6 separate regions of the Homo sapiens genome follow, and regions 2, 3, 4, 5 and 6 are each linked to region 1. The links are contacts of gene promoters, found by promoter capture Hi-C in blood cells and fetal thymus (Javierre and others, 2016). All regions are on one chromosome and are shown on one strand. The core of a region is centred on a gene start or on the middle of the fragment in contact, and the rest is flanking DNA. Distances in the headings are between cores, read along the strand shown. Region 1 holds the start of MADD (MAP kinase activating death domain). Region 2 overlaps CKAP5 (cytoskeleton associated protein 5). Region 3 overlaps CKAP5 (cytoskeleton associated protein 5). Region 4 overlaps CKAP5 (cytoskeleton associated protein 5). Region 5 overlaps LRP4 (LDL receptor related protein 4). Region 6 holds the start of LRP4 (LDL receptor related protein 4).

The links. The method cuts DNA at HindIII sites, captures the fragments that hold promoters and counts their contacts. A CHiCAGO score of 5 or more calls a contact.
Region 2: a fragment that was not itself captured here is called in contact with the fragment with the promoter of MADD in region 1 in 1 of 17 cell types (megakaryocytes); the score reaches 5.0 in megakaryocytes.
Region 3: a contact is called between a fragment that was not itself captured here and the fragment with the promoter of MADD in region 1, in 1 of 17 cell types (megakaryocytes). The highest score is 6.2, in megakaryocytes.
Region 4: a contact is called between a fragment that was not itself captured here and the fragment with the promoter of MADD in region 1, in 2 of 17 cell types (megakaryocytes and erythroblasts). The highest score is 7.2, in megakaryocytes.
Region 5: a contact is called between a fragment that was not itself captured here and the fragment with the promoter of MADD in region 1, in 2 of 17 cell types (M0 macrophages and M1 macrophages). The highest score is 7.1, in M0 macrophages.
Region 6: the fragment with the promoter of LRP4 here is called in contact with the fragment with the promoter of MADD in region 1 in 2 of 17 cell types (fetal thymus and naive B cells); the score reaches 7.1 in fetal thymus.

Annotation. Positions count from the first base shown.
Region 1 is chr11:47,268,497-47,271,936 of GRCh38, reverse strand. It overlaps MADD (MAP kinase activating death domain), which reads right to left and starts at 1,804. Exons shown (of 37, transcript NM_001376571.1): 1 at 1,691-1,804. It overlaps NR1H3 (nuclear receptor subfamily 1 group H member 3), which reads right to left. Exons shown (of 10, transcript NM_005693.4): 10 at 2,904-3,387. The coding sequence ends at 3,241. MADD-AS1 (MADD antisense RNA 1) reads left to right here. Exons shown (of 3, transcript NR_120569.1): 2 at 796-858; 3 at 957-1,280. RefSeq lists enhancers at 1,745-2,039, 2,513-2,622 and silencers at 1,513-2,042, 2,253-2,362. The HindIII fragment of the contact is 13,444 bases long and covers 1-3,440 here.
Region 2 is chr11:46,762,827-46,766,266 of GRCh38, reverse strand. It overlaps CKAP5 (cytoskeleton associated protein 5), which reads left to right. Exons shown (of 44, transcript NM_001008938.4): 28 at 1,011-1,136; 29 at 2,637-2,786; 30 at 3,088-3,291. Among named protein-coding and RNA genes, the nearest start is that of SNORD67, 2.0 kb to the right of the region's middle. The HindIII fragment of the contact is 1,059 bases long and covers 1,415-2,473 here.
Region 3 is chr11:46,782,925-46,786,364 of GRCh38, reverse strand. CKAP5 (cytoskeleton associated protein 5) reads left to right here. Exons shown (of 44, transcript NM_001008938.4): 17 at 1,692-1,877; 18 at 2,997-3,091. Among named protein-coding and RNA genes, the nearest start is that of SNORD67, 22 kb to the right of the region's middle. The HindIII fragment of the contact is 231 bases long and covers 1,709-1,939 here.
Region 4 is chr11:46,810,771-46,814,210 of GRCh38, reverse strand. It overlaps CKAP5 (cytoskeleton associated protein 5), which reads left to right. Exons shown (of 44, transcript NM_001008938.4): 5 at 3,033-3,204. Among named protein-coding and RNA genes, the nearest start is that of CKAP5, 34 kb to the left of the region's middle. The HindIII fragment of the contact is 1,761 bases long and covers 641-2,401 here.
Region 5 is chr11:46,855,339-46,858,778 of GRCh38, reverse strand. LRP4 (LDL receptor related protein 4) reads left to right here. Exons shown (of 38, transcript NM_002334.4): 38 at 1-2,062. All of the region lies in intron 2 of LRP4-AS1 (LRP4 antisense RNA 1), which reads right to left. Among named protein-coding and RNA genes, the nearest start is that of LRP4-AS1, 11 kb to the right of the region's middle. The HindIII fragment of the contact is 2,101 bases long and covers 771-2,871 here.
Region 6 is chr11:46,917,001-46,920,440 of GRCh38, reverse strand. LRP4 (LDL receptor related protein 4) reads left to right here and starts at 1,891. Exons shown (of 38, transcript NM_002334.4): 1 at 1,891-2,113. The coding sequence starts at 2,062. RefSeq lists enhancers at 1-467, 1,162-1,666, 2,830-3,440 and silencers at 1,727-1,956, 1,967-2,146, 2,157-2,326. The HindIII fragment of the contact is 10,743 bases long and covers 1-3,440 here.

The DNA of each region.
Region 1 (3,440 bases), core at 555-3,054:
AATAGTCCCTTGGTTCTCCCAACTGCAATAGAGTCATGAGCAAACTGCAGGAGGTGGGGCACTATAACAGAGCCGCACTCAGCTCCTCCTGAGCAGAATCCAAGGGGGAGAGAAATAGAGAAATGAAATGGGATATGAGTAAAAAGCATAATTTGTTTTAATAAAGAATTATGTAGTTAACCTGTCATGGGATTCGAAAAAAAAAAAAGAATTATGTAGAAATGACTAGAGTGAGAGCCAAAGTATCTTAAAGTAAAACAGAATTTATAGAACCAGAGCTCTAGACTACACCTTGCAATCTATGTTTACATTGAAAACCCGGAGCCCTCTCCAACCAAAATCTCAAAGATCAGGCCTGAAGCACCTCCTACTGAGTACGCATCAGGCCTCTCTAGCCTTGGTGGGATCTCAGTCCCTCTCCACTGACAACTATCTGACGAAACTCAAGTCACTCACAATCATTTCCTTCCAGAGCCACAAGGACCCTGAGATCTTGTTATTATTCTAGCTACGGGTGGTAGGATAAATTTTTAGCCAGAGTTCACATCTGATCAGCAGCCACTGCCTTCAGTTATTCAGATTGCAAAGATAACTAAGATTTTCCTTCTCATTCTCTCCTCTCTCCCCTCCCCAAAAAGACTAACACCTTTAACTCCTCTAAAGACTAAATCCTCTAACATCACCCACAACTCACACTCTTGTCTTCACAACCAACGAGGCTCCGACTCTGCCTCTTGCCTCAACCATGTTTACTAACGTAGAGCCTCTGGTTCCTATCTTCCTGTATTCCAAAAGCATCCAGCTCAAAATGCATATCTATCTGCTGAAGTCCGACATCACCATCAGCTCCACCCAGAGGTAGATTTAGGATTCACAAACTTTTAAGTTATCTATGCCTTTTCAGCAGAAATAGCCATGCTAACCAACCCTTTGGATTCGTCCCTCATTTTGGACAGGATCTCACAGTAAAACCACAGGAACCAGAGAGCGATATGACATCTCTGCTGACGTGAACACAACAGGAGGCTCTCCTCCCCTCCTCTACCTCCCCAGGCAGTGACCTTGCAAGCTCATCAGCACAGACTGGTCCAGCGTATGGGAGAACTGGAGCAAGGAGGCTGGCAGCTGGCAGGGTTGGGGTAGAGGGGAGGGCAGGGAAAGGTGGAAGAAGGTAGATACACGAGGATGGGGAGGAGAGCGATTGCAGAAAGATGAAATGGTGTTCTCTCTCCAGCAAGTCAATTTTGAAATATCAAGTTAAAAAAAAAATTTCTTGAGAACCAAACGTGTTTCTCCAAATTCTAGCCAAAAATAAGGCGCAAGCACGCACACGCACAAGCACACCCGCCAAGCGCTGTGCGGGTTCGGCCCCAGGGCTGGCCAGCTCTGCCCGCCCCCTCACCTGCTGGACAGTTCTCCCCCGCCCCCGCCCCCGCCCCGAACCTGAACCCGAGCCGCCCGCTCGGCAGGAACCAAGCCCAGTAGCCTGAGCCCCCTCCTCTGCCCGGGGCGCCCCCATCCCCGTCCCCGCCCCTCCTCGGCAGACCCCCGTCCCCACGCCCCTTCACACTCCCCCAGGGCCTCCTGAGAGACCCCTTCCTCCAAGAGCCACGGTGTCCTCTCAGAGCCCGTCTCCCGCTCGGAGTCCCCAGACGCTCGCCCAGGACCCCACCGGCCCAGACTCTCCTACCTCCCAAGCTCTGGGGGACTGGCCAGGCCCAGCCCGACGTCCCCCGGCAGCGGGGCGTCAGTCGCTCCCCAGCGCGGCGCCGCTCCGAGCGGGCGCCAGTTCCGCGTCTGCACTGGGGGGCACGCACCACTCGCGCGGGGTGCGGAGGGGGAGGCCGGGGCCGGGGCCGTACCATTCAGCCCGGGGGGCCGGGGCTGCACCGAGCCGAGCGCCGCGGGGCGGGGCCGACCTCGGGAGACAGCGGCTGCGCACAGACCTAGCCTAGCGCCCGTGGGCGCGGGAGGGCGCGCCAGGCCGACCCAGCGCCGTCGCGTGCCAAGTGGGGGACCCACAGCAGTACCTTCTGTTTGGGTTGCTCAGAGAGACTCTCACCCGACGGGGTCATAGCGCCCGTTTCGACGACATGGGGATTCCTCTGAAAGTCACTTCCCAAGATAATCGGCCCCTGAGACTTCCTGACGGGCTCCCCATCCCCCAGTCCCCACCCCCCACTCACGCGCTTTGGCGGTGCTCGGCGTCCGAGCAGGGAAGCCGGCTGCCGAGCGGTGGAGCCTACCAATCCTGGGCAGCGGGGGCAGAGGGGGGCGCGCGGCCGCGGTTACCTCCACCGGGCGCGCGCGGGGAGTGGGGGGGCGTGGCCGCGCCGCGGCGCCCGCTGGGAGATGGAGTCCAGTCAGTCCGCGAGGACAGCCCCGCCTCAGGACATCCTCCCCGCGGCCACACGGCTCTTCTCTTCCTGTCCCAAAGGGCCTGGGGACCGACACTGGGTTCTAGGTCTTTCAGGTTGTGCCTTTTTCAGATGCCAAAGGAAAAACCAAGGCATGCTACACATGCACGTGAGGTGCACCGCCGACGCCTTAGCGCTGAAATCCAACACTTCCTCCTCCACCGCAGAAAGGCAACCGGATCCTACCCGGATCCCAGCAGGGGAAGGGGGCGCCTAAGCCTCAGCATTCCATTTACCCATATGGCGCAGTGGGGGTTAGTAAGAAGAGGCCCCCTCTCACGGCCAAGGCTGTCATTTGTGACTCTCCCTCCTCTGGGCCTGGAGGCGGATCCTAAAGATCGCAGGCTTCCTCCTCTATTACCGTGTCCCCACCCCCAATCCAGAAATTGGTTTCTCTCATTTTGTATTCATTTTGATCTTCCTGTTCAAACAGTACCAGACCTATCAGTGAGGCGGCGCTGAGGCATTTATGGCCATACCACAGAGTGACAGTGGAGAATTTTTCTTGGGGCCCTGTGGGAAAAACAGGAAGTGGTGGAGGCAGGATGGGCAGGGCTCTGGAGAACCCTGTGCAAAGTGGCCCCCAGGCCCATCCGTTTGTGGGGTCAGCATGATCTTCAGACACAGCACAGTGTTAGCGAGGGCTCCACTGCTCAGTAGCCACAAAACTCGCAACCCTTTGACTCTCTTTTAATGCCACGGGAGGATCTCCTTGCCCAGCTCCCAGGAATGTTTGCCCTTCTCAGTCTGTTCCACTTCTAGGAGGCAGCCACCAGGCCTCAGCCATCCGGCCAAGAAAACAGAAAATATGGGGACAGAACAGTCATTCGTGCACATCCCAGATCTCAGAGAGCAGCGGTGGGAGCTTTTTGTCCTGCAGACGCAGTGCAAACACTTGCTCTGAGTGGACGCTGCTCAGGGTCCGGAGGCTCACCAGTTTCATTAGCATCCGTGGGAACATCAGTCGGTCCTGGGGAAAGGAGAGAGACAAACACAGCTTTTGCCTGTCCCCAGGGAAGCGGG
Region 2 (3,440 bases), core at 695-3,194, 510 kb after region 1:
ACGAAGCAGTTTCATATAAATGATCTCATATTTGTTTGGTCTGAATGACATTAGTGTTTATACTAGAAAGAAATTGTGGCCAACTAGAAATAGTGGCCATGCTACATTTATAATAATAATGATTCCAGTAATGAAATTTGAATTTTACCTTAAATATGTGTACTATTGTTTACTATTTTCTTTCTATCTGATATGAAGATTTTAAATCTTGGATTATTTTTTAAAACCACTTTAGTGACTTAAATATTTAAAGCATTTCTTGTAACTTTCTCTAGAAGCAAGTTCAAAAGGTCTTCAGTTACACTGTTATGATAAGAGATACATTTAAATATCAATGGAAAGAAACAGAAAAGCTTTCAAACTAAGTGTTTGGAAATGTGTAAATGCCATTCAAGATGTCATTAATGGCTGAGGTGGGTGGATCACTTGAGGTCAGGAGCTCGAGACCAGCCTGGACAACATGGTGAAACCCTGTCTCTACTAAAAATACAAAAATTAGCCAGGGGTGGTGGTGGGCGCCTTTGGTCCCACCTACTGAGGAGGCTGAGTCAGGAGAATCACTTGAACCTAGGAGGTGGAGATTGCAGTGAGCTGAGATCACGCCACTGCACTCCAGCCTGGGCGACAGAGTGAGACTCCGTCTCAAAAAAAAAAAAAAAAAAAAAAAGATGTCATTAATATGGAAAGCTATAAATAGTGTTGAAGATTTCAAGAAAACAAAAACAAAAAGTTTGTGACCTAGACTAATGATCAGTAATAGCAGTTTTTCCAACTACATAACATGCCAGTCCAAGAACTAACCAACAGTTACTTAAGAATATTCTCAGAAAAATTTCTAGAGAACCTGTTCAAAAACATATACAAGATTCTGTGATGCATGTTTTTTTCATGTGAAATATCACGTAGAAAGATATCTCTGTTTTCTACAGTGCCCTTTTACTGGGCAGCAGCATCATATTCTTAAGGAGAAGTGGCCAAGCTAATCAGTATTCCCTGAACCTTGGTTGTAGAGTGCACAAGGGAAGAAGATGCCAAGCAAAACCAGCTTAAAGGAGGATGAAGACAAATCCGGGCCTATTTTTATTGTTGTTCCAAATGGAAAAGAGCAAAGGATGAAAGATGAAAAAGGATTGAAGGTAAGGAAGGATTAAGAATCGTCAGGAGATTTTTGCTTGTATTGTTATTCAAGAATAGTTTTGCTGTCTGAATTCATGTTATTGTTTAATATCTAGGAATTAAGTGTTTCTTTTGCTTATAAATTATATTATTTAGTTTATGGGAGCATTAATTCCTACAAAAGAAACTATAGAATAGAGTTATTGCCTATTTTTCCCTGTAAATAGAAATAAATGATTTAGTAGCTTTTTTGGTATCTTCATTGATTTTTTTTTTTAATTAATTGGATGTATAAGCTTCTTCATTAATCCTTCTTTTTAAGACCTTACAAGGCAGACTTTGTGACTGTATAAATGGCTAGTTCAGTCATTTATGTTACTTTGATTTCATTAGATACTTAAATTTGTTTTCAAAATACATAATCTTTTTTAAAAATTATATGCAGTACAGAAAGTGCAAAGTATAGTAAGAAAAGCATGTCTCTGTTCCAGTATCCCTCCACAGGGAGGATATTAGTCCTCATTTTTTCAATGTATTACTCCAGAAATATTTTATACCTCTACTATCATATGTATATTTTTATATAGCCCTCCTTTTATACAGATGGCATATACAGACATGCCGTACTGTTTGTTCTGTATCTCACTATTTTCTTTTAATGATGTTTGAAATATCTGAAAGATCATTCGTATCTGTGTATATATGTGTGTATCACTGTTTGTATTGGTGCATTGTATGTATGTACCTTTCTTTATCCTTCGCCCACTATGTTGGACATTTAGGTTGTTTCTGGTCTTTCACTATTACAAACACTGCTGCTGTGAATATCTTTGAATGTAGGTCTTTGTACACATATGTGAGTGTATCTATATTAAACTCCTAGAATGATGATATGCATAATTTTGATAGATATTTCAAATTTTCTCTCTATCAAAGATGTGGCAGCAGTGTCCACCATGTTATATAGTTATATGTAGGATTAATTTTTTTTTTTTCTTTAGTAAGAATTGCAAGGCCAGGCACAGTGGCTCATGCCTGTCATCCCAACAATTTGGGAGGCTAAGGCAGGCAAATTGCCTGAGCCCAGGAATTCAAAACCAGCCTGGACAACATATTGAGACTTCATCTCTACGAAAAAAATTTTTTAATTAGCTGGGCATAGTGGTGCATGTCTGTAGTCCCAGCTACTTGGGGGGCTAAGGCAGAAGAATCACTTGAGCCTGGGAGGTTAATGCTACAGTGATCTATGATCATGCCACTGCACTCTGCCATGCCCAGGCAACAGGTGAGACTCTGTCTCAAAAACAAACAATTCCAAAAATTTTTATTCCTAGAAGATTTTCAGAGTTGTTAAGCTTCAAGAAGTATGACACCTTGAAATTTGCATTCATATTTAATTACAAATGAATATTGTTGAATTTTTAAATATTTTATTGTTCCTGCAGCTGCATTATATAAGGCTCTCTACCTCATTTCAGTTGAACACCCTGTAGCCCCTTTTCACCGTTTGTTTTTTCCAGGTGCTAAAGTGGAATTTTACTACCCCACGGGATGAATACATTGAGCAACTAAAGACTCAAATGTCTAGCTGTGTGGCTAAATGGTTACAAGATGAGATGTTTCACTCAGACTTTCAGCATCATAACAAAGCCCTTGCTGTTATGGTTGATGTAAGTCTGCAATAGATAAATATACATGTATTTCAGACATGTAAAAATACCGAGCCCTATGAAATAATCTGAAGTTTGCATGACTTGGAAGTAGAATATACTATGTTCTCTATTTTTAGAGCTGTCTTGTTATTTGGTAGAATAAATGAATGTGTGTGTATATTTTTTAGGTCTTAATTGAAGGCTTAAAAATCTGTCATTTTCTTTTTGGGCTCCAATAAAATTTAAAAGACACTTGCCTAGTAGAATTAAGATTTTGATTATTCTTATTTGTGGGAGTTTTGTTTTGTTTTATTTTAAGCACTTGGAGAGTGAAAAAGAAGGAGTTATTGGTTGCCTGGATCTTATCTTAAAGTGGCTTACCCTGAGGTTTTTTGACACCAATACAAGCGTCCTGATGAAAGCACTAGAATATTTAAAATTGCTCTTCACCTTGCTAAGTGAAGAAGAATATCATCTTACTGAGAATGAAGCATCTTCCTTCATCCCCTATCTTGTCGTCAAGGTAATGTGGTGTTCTCTCTCTGGGAGACTGCTTAAGTTCCCAGCTGACCTCAGTTTCTGTACTTTTATTTCCTCTCCCTTTTTTACTGATTATATCACGGTACCTTCCCTACTTATCCCTATTTCCCTATTCTTTCAAAACATAGTAAT
Region 3 (3,440 bases), core at 575-3,074, 490 kb after region 1:
CCCCCCACCTGCCAGTGGCTGCACAGCTCTAGGTTTTCATAGTTGCCATGGTTACAAGACTTCAGGTTTTGAAGGCTACTGTGGAGCTGGAAGAAAAGGGGAGCAAGGCAAGTTAAATCACCAGAAACCTCACTGTCCTTACTAAAATTCAGCATCCTTTCTTTAAATGGTTCTTGTATGTTACAAGCCTTATTTAATTTTCAGAGTTGTGAGATAAGTTGATTTGGATAGTTTTTGCCAGTGTTCTTTGTTGCTTTTGAGGAAGATCAGTTTTTCAGAGGTATTGACTCCACAATTGCAGAAGTCCCACCCAAGATAATTACATTTCTTTGGTTTGTTTTTTGGTTTGGGAATTTTTTTTTTAATTTTTTAAATTTTTATTTTTTCACATGCCTGCTATGTCAAATTTTGGGGGTTTGAGACAAAGTCTCACTCTCTTGCCCAGGCTAGATAGTGCAGTGGTGTCAACATGTCTCTCTGCAGCTTCAGCCTCCTGGGTTCAAGTGATCCTCCCACCTCAGCCTCCCAAGTAGCTGGGACTACAGGCGAGGGCCACCATACCCAACTAATTTTTGTACTTGTTGTAGAGCTGGGGTCCCTCCATATTGACCAGGCTGGTCTTGAACTCCTGGGCTCAAGCATTCCCCTCGACTCAACCTACCAAAGTGCTGGGATTACAGGCATGAGCCAGGCGATAATTGCATTTTAAAAGAGGATGTTTGTGTGGCTGGGCACAGTGGCTCACGCCTGTAATCCCAGCACTTGGAGAGGCTGAGGTGAGATCCCACTTGAGATCCACTTGAGGTCAGGAGATCGAGACCAGCCCGGCCAACATGGTGAAACCTCATCTCTACTAAAAATACAAAAATGAGCCAAGCGTGGTGGCGGGCGCCTGTAAGTAATCCCAGCTACTTGCGAGGCTGAGGCATGAGAATCGCTTGAACCCAGGAGGCAGAGGTTGCAGTAAGCTGATATCTCACCACTGCACTCCAGCCTGGGTGACAGAACAAGATTCTGTCAAATAAATACATAAATAAATGGGAGTATTTGTCACCTAAATTAATCTGTATAATAGGATTTCTAGTGGCGTAACAAAAAAAGTTAAAATATTCACACAGTACAAAGAAAAATATTTATGAGCAAAGGGGTCCTTAATCCCATAGGTCTGCCATCACAATAATATCTTTAAATTATTTTCCACAGATCTTTTTATTCTTATACTTAAAAGCCAACAAGTTCTCTAAAATCTCTGAAGTTCTGTGTTGCATGTGTGTATAAGAGGGTTGTAGTGTTTTTGTAGGCAGCCCTAGTAGTAATTCTCAGTTATGCAGTCAGTATAGTAATTTATTGTGTATTTTAGGGTGTGTATTCAGTACTAAATGCAAATAATCATAAGAGGAGGAAAATTTAAAAATCAGATTTTTCAATTAATAAACTTTCTGTGCAATATTACTTGTTAGTATTTTGGAACACTGAGTAGCTTTTTTTCCCTCTCTTCACTGTCAGTTAAGTAATTGGTAACAATTAAAGGATACAAATTATTTTGCATATTTGTTTAAAATCCTGATTTTACTTTAGTTGTGTTTCCAGCTGTCCCTAACCATGTCATATCTGTTACATGCTGTTAATACAAGTAAATAAATAAATGTCCTTGGCTTGCTCTTAGCTTTATGATACTGATCCTTGTTCAGGTGATGCAAATGAAGCTTCATATAGTTGCTTTGATTGCCCAGAAGGGAAATTTTTCCAAAACGTCAGCTCAGGTTGTATTAGATGGCCTTGTGGACAAGATTGGAGATGTGAAATGTGGGAACAATGCAAAAGAAGCTATGACAGCAATAGCCGAAGCCTGTATGTTACCATGGACTGCTGAACAGGTTAGTGACACAGAAGTCTTATTCCTCTAGTTTTCCCAATTTTTTCCCCCAAACTTTAAGCTTACTAATTAAACATTAGTTTTTATCTTCTCAAGTAAAATCTTTTTTGATACTGCATTTTTTTTGAGATGGAGTTTCACTCTGTCGCCCAGGCTGGAATGCAATGGTGCAATCTCGGCTCACTGCAACCCTCCCGGGTTCAAGTGATTCTCCTGCTTCAGCCTCCCGCATAGCTGGGATTACAGGCACCTGCCACCACGCCTGCCTAATTTTTGAATTTTAATAGAGACAGGATTTCGCCACGTTGGCCAGGCTTGTCTCGAACTCCTGACCTCAGGTGATCTGCCTGCCTCGGCCTCCCAAAGTGCTGGGATTACAGGTGTGAGCCACCATGCCCGGCCCTTTGATACTGCATTTTTATTTTTACCTTAAAAAATACTCTATTGCCTAGTGATGAAAATTCATCTTAGTCAAAAATATTCGGTCAGACACAGAGGCTCACACCTGCAATCCCAGCACTTTGGGAGGCCGAGGCAGGAGGATGACTTGAGGCCAGGAGTTTGAGAGCAGCCTGGCCAACATGGTGAAATCCCGTCTCTACCAAAAATACAAAAATTAGCCAGGCGTGGTGGTGCACACCTGTAATGCCAGCTACTAGGGAGGCTGAGGCAGGAGAATCACTTGAACCTGGGAGACAGACGTGGCAGTGAGCCGAGATCACGCCACTGTACTCCAGCCTGGGCAACAGAGTGAGACTGTCTCAAAACAAATAAACAAAAAATTCTATAGAAGGTGAAAGCCCACGAGCTTGAGGCTGCAATGATTGATGATTGTGCCACTGTACTCCTGGGTGACAGAGCAAGACCCTGTCTCTAAAAAAAAAAAAAAAACATTATAATGCAGAGTAATTGCTGCAAAGCTATAAATAGTCCAGAATGCCTTTAGTCCTACTATCATTTCACCTCATTTTCTTGTGTAGGTTCACTCTTGTTCCTAAGGCATTCTTGCAGTTGTTTTAGCGTCAGAAAACTAGTTTAATGCACATCTGCCTTAATGTCATGCTGTATTTCTATAAGAAATACGAGATAAAACACAGATCTGCTGTTTTTCCCTTTTCAGGTTGTGTCAATGGCTTTCTCACAAAAGAATCCCAAAAATCAGTCAGAAACTCTGAATTGGCTATCAAATGCCATAAAAGAATTTGGTTTTTCTGGGTAAGTCAGAACGAAATCAAGTGGAAAATAGTTAAATGTTCTGTCAGTCTCTAAGTCGTGCTGTTTATAATAATAGCTATTGCTGTTTATTTCTGAAGAGTGAGAGCTGGATTGTCTCATTTATATAAAAGAAAATTACCTTTGTTCTCAAAGGTCTATATTGGCTTGTGTTCCTGCTTTTTGATGTTCACTGAAAGAGTTCTCTACGTTATTTTTCCTTAAGCATTAATAGCTGTCCCACAGAAAATCCAGTTCCAAGAATTTCTAGTCAAATACATTAGGAAATTTCTGTATATAATTACATTTGTTTAAAGACCTATAGTATGCCTTGGCGAATTAACTGCTGTCA
Region 4 (3,440 bases), core at 272-2,771, 460 kb after region 1:
CAATAAATCTTTTGTGTCCTTAGTGATGTCTAAATTTTAAAAAATACTGTAATCTTTTTTTTTTTTTTTTTTTTTTTTTGAGACAAGGTCTCGCTCTGTCACCCAGACTGGAGTGCAGTGGTACGATCTCAGCTCACTGCAACCTCCGCCCCTGGGTTCAAGCGATTCTCATGCCTCCAGCCTCCTGAGTAGCTGGGACTACAGGTGAGCACCACCACACCCAGCTAATTTTTTTTTTCTTTAATAGAGATGGGTTTCTCCATGTTGGTCAGGCTGGTCTGGAACTCCTGGCATCAAGTGATCCCACCTCGGCCTCCCAAAGTGCTGGGATTACAGACATAAGCAACCGCACCTGGCCTATAATCTTCTACCTTTAAATTACAAGTTTCTAGTCTGGAGTGCTGTGTACTCTGGTTATTTCATTTTTTAGCTAAACTGGGAGAATAAGGGTAGGAAAATAACAAGTTACGTATATCTCATGTTTTCTTCATAGATGTTGTTATGTAGTCCCATCCCTGTGTGGTTCTTTATTTGTCCTAAAGCATTTCAGAGTCTATAGTTTAACTAGGTAGCTCTCTGGGACCCTCAAGAACCTTGAGGCCAAACTGCTTGATCCTGGGTTCCAGAGCTTGCTAAAGCTTTGTTAGTGAGAGCTTCAGGTGACCAGAAACATTTGTGGTACCTAAAACAGGTTTCTAGTACCCTTTTGTGTTTTCTATAGTAATACGTTTAGTATCAAAATTAGGTTTTATTTTATTAAGGTGTCTATTTTCCATGTGGACTTGCTCCATCTTTTTTTTCTTACAGAAGGAGGCCAGGATAGAGAAAAAAGATTCAGATGAAACAGTAATAATATATAGGAAGATTTAAGAAATCTCAAATGTTAGGTTCTTCAGGCACCATGTTAAATATCCCTAAAACAAAATGGTTTATTGCCACTATAATTTCTTATTTTTTGTTTAATCTTAAAGGTCAGCTGAGCCAAGTTAAAATGTAATTTTTTTAATAATATAAAAGCATTTTAAAAAATCTTAGAGATTATGTAGGTTATTCTCATGATATTTGTACTTAAACTATATCACATAGCCAGGTATCTTATTAAAAATTCTTTTTTTATTGTGCCTGTAGTCCCACCAACTCAGGAGGCAGGAAGATTACTTGAGCCCAGGGGGTGAGGCTGCTGTGAGCTATGATTGTGTCACTGTACTCCAGCCTGGTTAACAGAGTGAGACACTATCTCAAAAATAATAATAATAATTAAGGCCAGGAGCAGTGGCTCATGCCTGTATTGTCCCAGCACTTTGGGTTGGGAGGCTGAGGCAGGCAGATTGCCTGAGCCCAGGAGTTCAAGACCAGCCTGGGCAACAAGGAGAAACCCCGTCTCTACAAAAAATACAAAAAAAAAATTAGCCGGGCATGGTGGTGCCCCTCTGTAGTCTCAGCTGCTTGGGGGACTGAGTCTGGAGAATAGCTTGAGCAGGGAAGGTCGAGGCTGCAGTGAGCTGTGATCATACCACTGCATTCCAGCCTGGATGACATAGTGAGACCCTGTCTCCAAAAAAGTAAAAACAAAAACCAAGAAAAAAAAATCGTTGGAGTACACTAGTAGCTATTACTGAGTAATTTTGTTGCATTTGCTCACATGAGATAAATTTGTGCACATTAGATAATAGATAAATAATAATTTGGGTCCTACTACTCATACAGAATTTCAGTGTTCTTTCATAAATAAATCTCTCCTGCTCCAGAATCTGATACTCACAAATGTTAATAGTGATATTAGATAGCTAAAATTGGCCAGTTGGGAACTTGAAAATGTAATCTATGACAGATATGTAAGGTTAAACACACTTTTTTTTAATTTTATTTTTTTTTTGAGACGGAACCTTGCTCTGTTGCCCAGGCTGGATGGAGTGCAGTGGCGCGATCTCGGCTCACTGCAACCTCTGCCTCCCGGGTTCAAGCGATTCTTCCACCTCAGTCTCCCAGGTAGCTGGGATTACAGGCGCCCACTATCGTGCCTGGCTAATTTTTGTATTTTTGTAGAGACAGGGTTTCACCATGTTGGCCAGGCTGGCCTTGAACTTCTGACCCCAGGTGATCTACCTGCCTCAGCCTCCCAAAGTGCCGGGATTATAGGTGTGAGCCACTGCGCCTGGCCAAATATGCTTTTTGAAAGAAGTCAAAATGCAACATTTTCCCCATAGAAAACTGAAGTAAAGAAAGATTTAAGATGCCCAGAGTTATAGTGTGATAGCCACAAAGTCAGGAACAAAATATTGCCAAGATTTGTGATCTATCTAGGTAAATGAATCACTTTAATTATAGGAGCTATTAAAGGTTTATTAAAAGTAGATTTCATTCATGTAAATATTTATAAACTAGTTTATATTTGTAAGCTTTTATATGTATATACATACATATTTGTGGTATTAGGCTGGGTGTGGTGGCTCACGCCTGTAATCCAGCACTTTAGGAGGCTGAGGCGGGTGGATCACCTGAAGTCAGGAGTTCCAGACCAGCCTGGCCAACATAGTGAAACCCCATCTCTACTAAAAATACAAAAATTTGCTGGGCGTGGTGGCGCATGCCTGTAACCCCAGCTACTTGGGAGACTGAGACAGGAGAATCACCTGAACTCAGGAGGCAGAGGTTGCAGTGAGCTGCAATCATGCCATACCACTCTAGCCTGGGCAACAAGAGCAAAATGCCATCTGAAAAAGAAAAAAAAAGGGTATTAAACATGTTGATCCTTTATAGGTTTTAATTATTCCTAGTCTGCTTACCTAGAAAGTTTGTTTAAAAATGGTAATATTATTTTGGGCCCTACACATTAAATAATATTCTTAGAAGAACAACACCTTAGTAGGTAAGCAGTTATGAGTTCCTTTTCTTTTGTTGCCTTAAAAAAAACTGAACTTATATAATTCTTCTAATATGTAGATATGGAACTATGTTTGAATGAAGAAAAGCTAATGCTTTATTTAATTGCATTGCACGTTGACAGTTTTTTCCCAATTTTTTACTTGTAGTGAATTTGGTTCCAAAATCATCTTGCTTAAGCCAATTATCAAAGTGTTGCCAAAACTCTTTGAGTCTCGAGAGAAGGCTGTTCGAGATGAAGCCAAACTAATTGCTGTGGAGATTTACAGATGGATTCGGGATGCTCTGAGACCCCCATTACAAAATATAAACTCTGTTCAGGTGAGACAAAAAGTTTTCTGGTTGCTTTCGCACAAGGTTAATATGAAAATATTTTCTTCCTATCGTTGTTGATATTCTGTCCTTAAAAATAATTATTTTACATTCTTAATTTTGAAATCAGCTTTTCTGAGCATAGCTAACTTTCTCAGCAATTCTCTTGGGTGGCAGAACTTATTATCTGTGTGAAGTACATTCTTTCTGGCTTTTTATTACAATTGGTTTTGGAGACTCTTCTG
Region 5 (3,440 bases), core at 572-3,071, 410 kb after region 1:
AATTTAGACCTGGATTTTACCATGAACCTCACATCTTGTACTCCATCCTGGGCCCCCTGAAACTGCTTATTCGTGATTCCTCACCAGCGTAGAGCTCCACCTCCCCTTTCCCCAGTACCCTCAGTGCCTGCTTCTCAGTGCTGATGCAGCTGATGACCCAGGACTGCGCTCTGCCCCATCACAGCCAGCATGACTGCTTCTCTGAGAGAACTTGCCCATCAGGGGCTGGGACATGGGGGTGTGGGTAAAGACAGGGATGAAGGATAGAGGCTGAGAGAAGAAGGAAGAATCAGCCCAGCAGGTATGGGCATCTGGGAAACCTCCAGCCTCAAGTGTGTTAGTAACATGAAAAAGCTTTGGGGGGTAGTTGGATCTGGGTGTCTGGTCCATTGCTGGCAGTGGACATTATTCTTGCCCTAAGAGACACTGCCTTTTCAGCAGCAGATACTGGTGAGATGGGGGTGGCTCAGGCTGTTCTTCCTCCTCCTAGAATGTCTGGAGCTGTTTCTACATTCAGATAACTGGGTCCCCTATCACAAGGCTACTGGCTAATAGGAATTCCCTCCTGGTGCCACCACTGGCCAGTACCTTTCCTAAGTCTTTGCTCAAATTAACCAGGTTGTGAGCCAGTGGCTTGAGTGAATGTTAGGCCTTGGGGGCTGAGTCTCTGAAAAGTCTAAGAAGCTCTGCCTAGACCAAATATGGTATACCTCCTGACCCCTCTCTCCCTCATGTCCTGGGATTCTGGGGAAGAGACCTAGAAACAAGCTTTCAAAGAAAAACCAGAAGTTGTCATAAATGGTCAGAAAGAACGATCAGGTTGGAGACTTGGGAAACCCAGGGCCTAAAGAGAAGTATCCATGAGGGTCAAACTTCCTGTTGAACTTCCTATGTTCTTTCTCAAGTGCTCAGGGATCTAAGTTAGTGGACAGCAAGCCTGTGGCTACGGGGTGGTGATGTTCCTCTTCCAGCTGTCCCCTCAGCTAAGGGGCTTAGTTTCCATGTGGGATGCCATCACTTGGTTCATGCTCATTCACACAAAGGGCACGTGTCTCAGCCTGGTATCAGGGAAATTGAGACTTATTTTTGCCCTAAAACGTCTCCCTAGCTGTTCTTCGTGGGGTTTTTTTGTTTGTTTTTTTGCCTAATTTGCTTTTTCTGACCAAGCCTTGTGGCACCAGCAATCTCCAAAGTCCTGTGGTGGGAGGGCTGAATAAATAAAAATACAAAGAGGTGGGTAAGGAGTAGGAAGGTAGAGAGCACCACTGATGAGGCCCTCCTAGCCCATGGCAGACCCAGACCTCTTCTCCCCCAGGAATTAGAAGTGGCAGGAGAGAACAACAGGGGCTGGGAATGGAGGGGAGAATTTCTAGGGGAAGTTTCCTGAGTTGAAACTTCTCCTGTGGTTACTGGTATTGAGAAATCAGCTACCAAAGTGAAAAAGGACAAGATCAATTCTTTTCTAGTCAGTTCTAAGACTGCTAGAGAGAGATACCAGGCCCTTAGCCTTGCTCTCAGTAGCGTCAGCCCCAGTTCTGAGCCTCCCCACATTACACTTAACAAGCAGTAAAGGAGTGAGCACTTTGGGTCCTTAGACTCACGTCTGGGGAGGAAGAGCAAGTAGAAAAGTGGCATTTTCTTGATTGGAAAGGGGGAAGGATCTTATTGCACTTGGGCTGTTCAGAATGTAGAAAGGACATATTTGAGGAAGTATCTATTTGAGCACTGATTTACTCTGTAAAAAGCAAAATCTCTCTGTCCTAAACTAATGGAAGCGATTCTCCCATGCTCATGTGTAATGGTTTTAACGTTACTCACTGGAGAGATTGGACTTTCTGGAGTTATTTAACCACTATGTTCAGTATTTTAGGACTTTATGATAATTTAATATAAATTTAGCTTTTCTTAATCACCTTGCCTGGCTTGGAGTCATGACTAATCCTGCACCTGCTCTGTCTGGCAGACCCATGCTGTGGAAAACCTGCTTACAGACATCACTTTTAAGTCCTTTGTGGATGTGGGCACAGTGAAGAGCAATAAAGAGTGTGAGGTTCCTGCTGGAGTTTTCAGCTCATCTGGAGAAGACAGGTCGAGGCCAGAGTTCCTTGACTGATGAAACCTTTATTTCCTCTGGAAGAGGAATGGTAGATGGGTTTCCTCTTGAGTGCTGACTCTGACTGGTTGGTAGTGGCTGCCTGAGGGCCTATTCGCACCCAATGGGAAGAATGTCATATGGCTAGTGACATCTCTTCTGTGCACTGGAAGGAAATGTCATGGCATGTATACCATGTATCTTCTATTTCTGTTCTAGGTCTTTGTTACAGAACTTTACTTTGCCTTGCAGTGATGGTCACTGGCAAGACTATCTCATGTAGTAAGAAAAGTACTGGAGCTGGGGACATGGAGGGCTAATTCCAGTCCCAGATCTGCCACTAGCTCTGTTTGATCTTAGTCAACTTTCATAGTTAGTCTGAGAGTGGATCAAATTATCACTAGGATTTCATTTATTTTTAAAAGCTGTCTTTTCATAGCTCATCCACTACTTCTCAAGGCTAGAACAAGGAGCTAGGGATCCCTTCTCAGGTTCTCTGGATGTGATATCCCTCAGTGAAAACTGGGAATCATGTTAATCTCAACGCCCGATGTAGAATTTCATGTCAAGTCTCAATAGTTGATTTTCTAAACCACACACCATCTATAGGATAATATCCCCATTCATTCATTCATTCATTCATTCATTCATCTGCTATGGGCTAGGCACTGCCCATGCCTAAACAAAGACATAATCTTACAGAGCTTAGAGTCTAGCAACACCATTACCACCACCATCCCAAAAAAAGACAAAAAATGAAAGTAAGAAAGACTGAAGCTTCTTGTATTTAAGTGACCAGAGATCTGAGTATAAGCTACAGTGTATAATTTTTCTAACTGTAGTAAGGAGTAGGTGTGCCAGAACAAAAACAAGTAGAATAGCCCAAGGATAACCATCCCTCCAACCCCCACTGTTCTCTTTGGGAGGGAAAAAAAAAGCAGAAAAGGAGGACATCTTGGGATAAAACAAAGGTTGGGAATTCCTTGTCTAGTTCTCTGGTATAAAATCTGAAACTAGGGTCAGGCACAGTGGCTACACCAAAGTAATCTCACCACTTTGGGAGGCCAAGACAGAAGTAAGGAGTATTGCTTGAGGCCTGGAGTTCACGATCAGCCTGGGCAACATGACAGGACCATATCTCTACAAAAAAATTTAAAAATATTAGTCAGGTGTGGTAGCTCATGCCTGTAGTCCCAGCTGCTTGGGAGGCTGAGGCAGGAGGATTGCTTGAGCCCAGGAGTTCAAGGTTACAGTGAGCTATGATCACGCCACTGCATTCCATCCTGGGTAACAGAGCAAAACCTTGTCACTAAAAAAACAAAACAAAAAAACCCTGAAACTGATAAGT
Region 6 (3,440 bases), core at 642-3,141, 350 kb after region 1:
AATACATTAGCCGGACGTGATGGCGCATGCCTGTAATCCCAGCTACCCTACTCGGGAGGCTGAGGCAGGAGAATCGCTTGAACCCGGGAGGCCGAGGTTGCAGTGAGCTGAGATGGCGCCATTGCACTCCAGCCTGGGCAACAAGAGTGAAACTCCGTCTCAAAAAAGAAAAAAAAAGAGCAAGTCTTCATAAGCAACATATATGAAACCCTGAGACCAACCAAACCTGCATTAGGAAATGAGAGGTGGGAAGGAGGATGCTGGGGAATCAGCCTCTACTTTTGACGTTTTTTCCTCCTTGGATTTTAGGCTGTGGTAACTGATCGAGGCCAGAAATGTTGACAGTCTTGCCTAGCCCCAAGATCATGTAAGCCTGACCTGACGCTACTGCCGCCTTCAGTCAGCAAGAAGAACTACACACCCAGAAAATGCTTCAGTAATAGTTACCATGGTGATGCTAGTTCAACCACATTGCATCTGGATAAAAATTTCAGGCAAAACGATATAGAAAACTACTGCCTAACAAGGAGTTAACACCTTACATCTTTTATGTTGTTGTTGTTGCTGTCGCAAAGTATGGTTCATGTTAGCTTTGGTAAAAGATGGTAATTTGAAGTGAAAGTACTGAAAAAAACAAGCAAGGATGAAATGTCAATGTATCCATTTAGAGAAATCTAATAACCACTTTGCACTATGCCAAATTACTTTCCCCTCAGCTAACAGGGGGCATTTGGGTCTTCCTGACTCTATTTACTGGTGAGGAAAGTGAGTTAATGAAATCCATAGATGATCCAAGCCCAAGAAATGCTGGCATATCAGCTGGGAGGGAAAAAAGCGATATACTGGGCCATCAGAAAGTTGGGCATTTGGGCAAAAGGAACAAAACAAGATTCAACCTGGAAAAATGGAAGGTGGTGAAATTAATCCGTATTATTAATATGCATTAGGGAGAGTAGACCACAAAAGGAAGGAAGACTAGAGACAAGTTTATGATTTTATGCAGTAAATCAAAAGTTAAATCTGAGGGAAGGACCTACAGACTGGGGCTGGAAGGAGGCTGAGGGCTTTGTGGGAGTGCAGCTGCCCATGAGGACTCCTTTCCTGACCCCCTCCCTTCCTTGTCAGGATCAGAAAGTCAAAGAAGGTGAAGAGGCTAACAACAGTGATTTACAAAGACAGCAAGGAGGAACTAAGTCTGTATGGGCCGAATCTGGGCCTCTGAGCTGGAGCAACAGGACCCAGACAACCATCTCAGGAAATGAGTGAATGAAAAGGGGCGGGGGGGTCGGTGAATTATTTAGCCCTAGAACAACGCTGCCTAGACCGGGGGAGGCCAGGGAGAAGAAAATCTCCGAAAAGGAATTTTGACAGTGAGAACGCCAGTTAAGATACAGCACTCCAGGCCCCCTGATGTCCCTTGTTTGATGTCAATAAAGACCCAAGAGGATTATGCATCCACAAGCCTTGCGTATTCGCAGACATCAAAAAAGTCTGGACTTGGGGCCGGTAGGCGGGGGCAGGGTCACGTCCAGGCGACTTGGGTCAGCTCAGGTGCTCGTCTGAAGCATAGAGCTGGAGTGAGCGGGGGCGAGACTTGCTGCTAGGATAATTTTTTTTTTTTAAGTTAGGGAAATTTAAGCAGTAGTAATAGCGACAGGGAGGGGGCTCTCTCTCGGGCCAGGAATGTGGGGGCGGCCTGAGGAGGAGCGGGGCCCCGCGCAGGAGGCGCCGGCGGGTGGGGTCGGGGGACCAGGGAGCCGGGGCCGAGGGCGGGAAGGGGCCGGGCCGGCGCTGGGGGCGGGCCCAGGCGCGGTGGCGGTGGCCGGGGCTGCGGCGCGGGGGGCGGGGCGGTCGGGCCCGGGACACCCCCTCCCGGTCCCCTGGCGGGGCAGCGTCGGCTCTGGCAGCACTGGAGGCGGCGGCGGCCCGAGGGCGACTTGCGGGGCGCGCAGGCCGCCGTGCACCCGGGACGCTTCCCCCTCGGGGACCCTCCGCGGGCTTCTCCGCCGCGCCGTCCGGCGGGAGCCGGCGGGACCCCGGGCGAGCGGCGCGGGCGGCACCATGAGGCGGCAGTGGGGCGCGCTGCTGCTTGGCGCCCTGCTCTGCGCACACGGTAAGCGGCGCCCGCCGGGAAAGTTTGTCCCTGGGTCCGGCCGCTGCAGGACTCGCCTCCCGGGACCTGGACGGCGCGGGCCGGGGCCTGAGACCCCTCGCCCTCGCTCCTAGCCGTGGCCCTGGGGCTGCGTGCAGGGGAGAGGACCCGGAGCGGCCCCGGCTCCAGCAGTCCGAGCGGGGGCATCAGCGGAGGCGCTTCCGCGGGTTCGGGTCTGGGCCGGGGCGCGGGTCTGGGCCGGGGCGCGGGTAAGGTCCGGGGCGTTCGTTCGCTCGCCCTCCCTCGCTGCTCTTTCAAGAGCGGGGGCTGCTTCCCTTTCAGGTTAGGTCGGGGGCTCTGTGTCCTTGGTGCGAATGAATGCGTGCGAAGAAAGGGAGGCGGGTGAGGAGGGTCGCTAAACCCATAAATTGTAAATAGCCCTCCTTCCTGGGGCTGGGGGCTCGGGCGGGTTGCGGAGAGAGGCCCCGGTAGAATCTGGTACTTGGGCACCGGGATTCCTCTACTCGGAGAACGATTCCCGGACTCCAGGTCTTGCTCCCACCAAGGGGCTCTGGGGCACTGTTTGCGGGCAGCATCTCCCCTCGGCGGTGTTTCGGGGTCCCTCTCTTGGCTGCGGCCAGTCAGCTTCCAGCCCTGGATCGTCCTAAAGGGAGGTGGTTGGAAAGGGGGCTGAGGAGGAATATAGGGAAGAAACTGCTGGAAGGCTCCCGCAGATCTGCCCTGGCTGGGGTAGGGGGGCAGGGGGCCGGTAACCCTGAACCCCAGAAGGCAGCCGCCGGGCCCTCGCGGCAGGGTCCCAGCCCTCGGGGGAGCTGGACGGCTGCAGCAGGACTCCTTGGTGCCCGTACCCCCTGTTGTGTGGGACTAGGGCTCCGATGGAATCTGCTTCTCCGCGGGCTCTTAACGACCCTGGGTGCACCCCGTGATTGAGCAGCTTTCCCTAGTTTGTGCCCAGAGATCAAAGAACTTTGATCTTTGAACCCCAGCCCTATTCACCCATCGCTATTCATCGTGGCGGGAGTTCCGAGTCTCCCCATTTGCCTCGCAGCCCCGATGAAGGGAGCTGGGGCTCAGAATGGAGGGGTCTGGAGACCCTGCCTGGTCTTTTACCGGTTCTTTCTTTCACGTAGGACAGCTCGTGTGGAAAAAGTCAGTGCAGATTTCCGAACTTGCCTGGCAGGGCGTGGAGATGTCTAGGCACTCGTTTTAAAGATTGGTTTACCTCCCAAATCCAAAACAGAGTTTTCATGTCTCTTATTTAAACTACCTGTGGGTTTTCAGGGGCTTTTTTCCGCGTCCTCTCTAGCGCGGACTGAGCTCTTTCTCT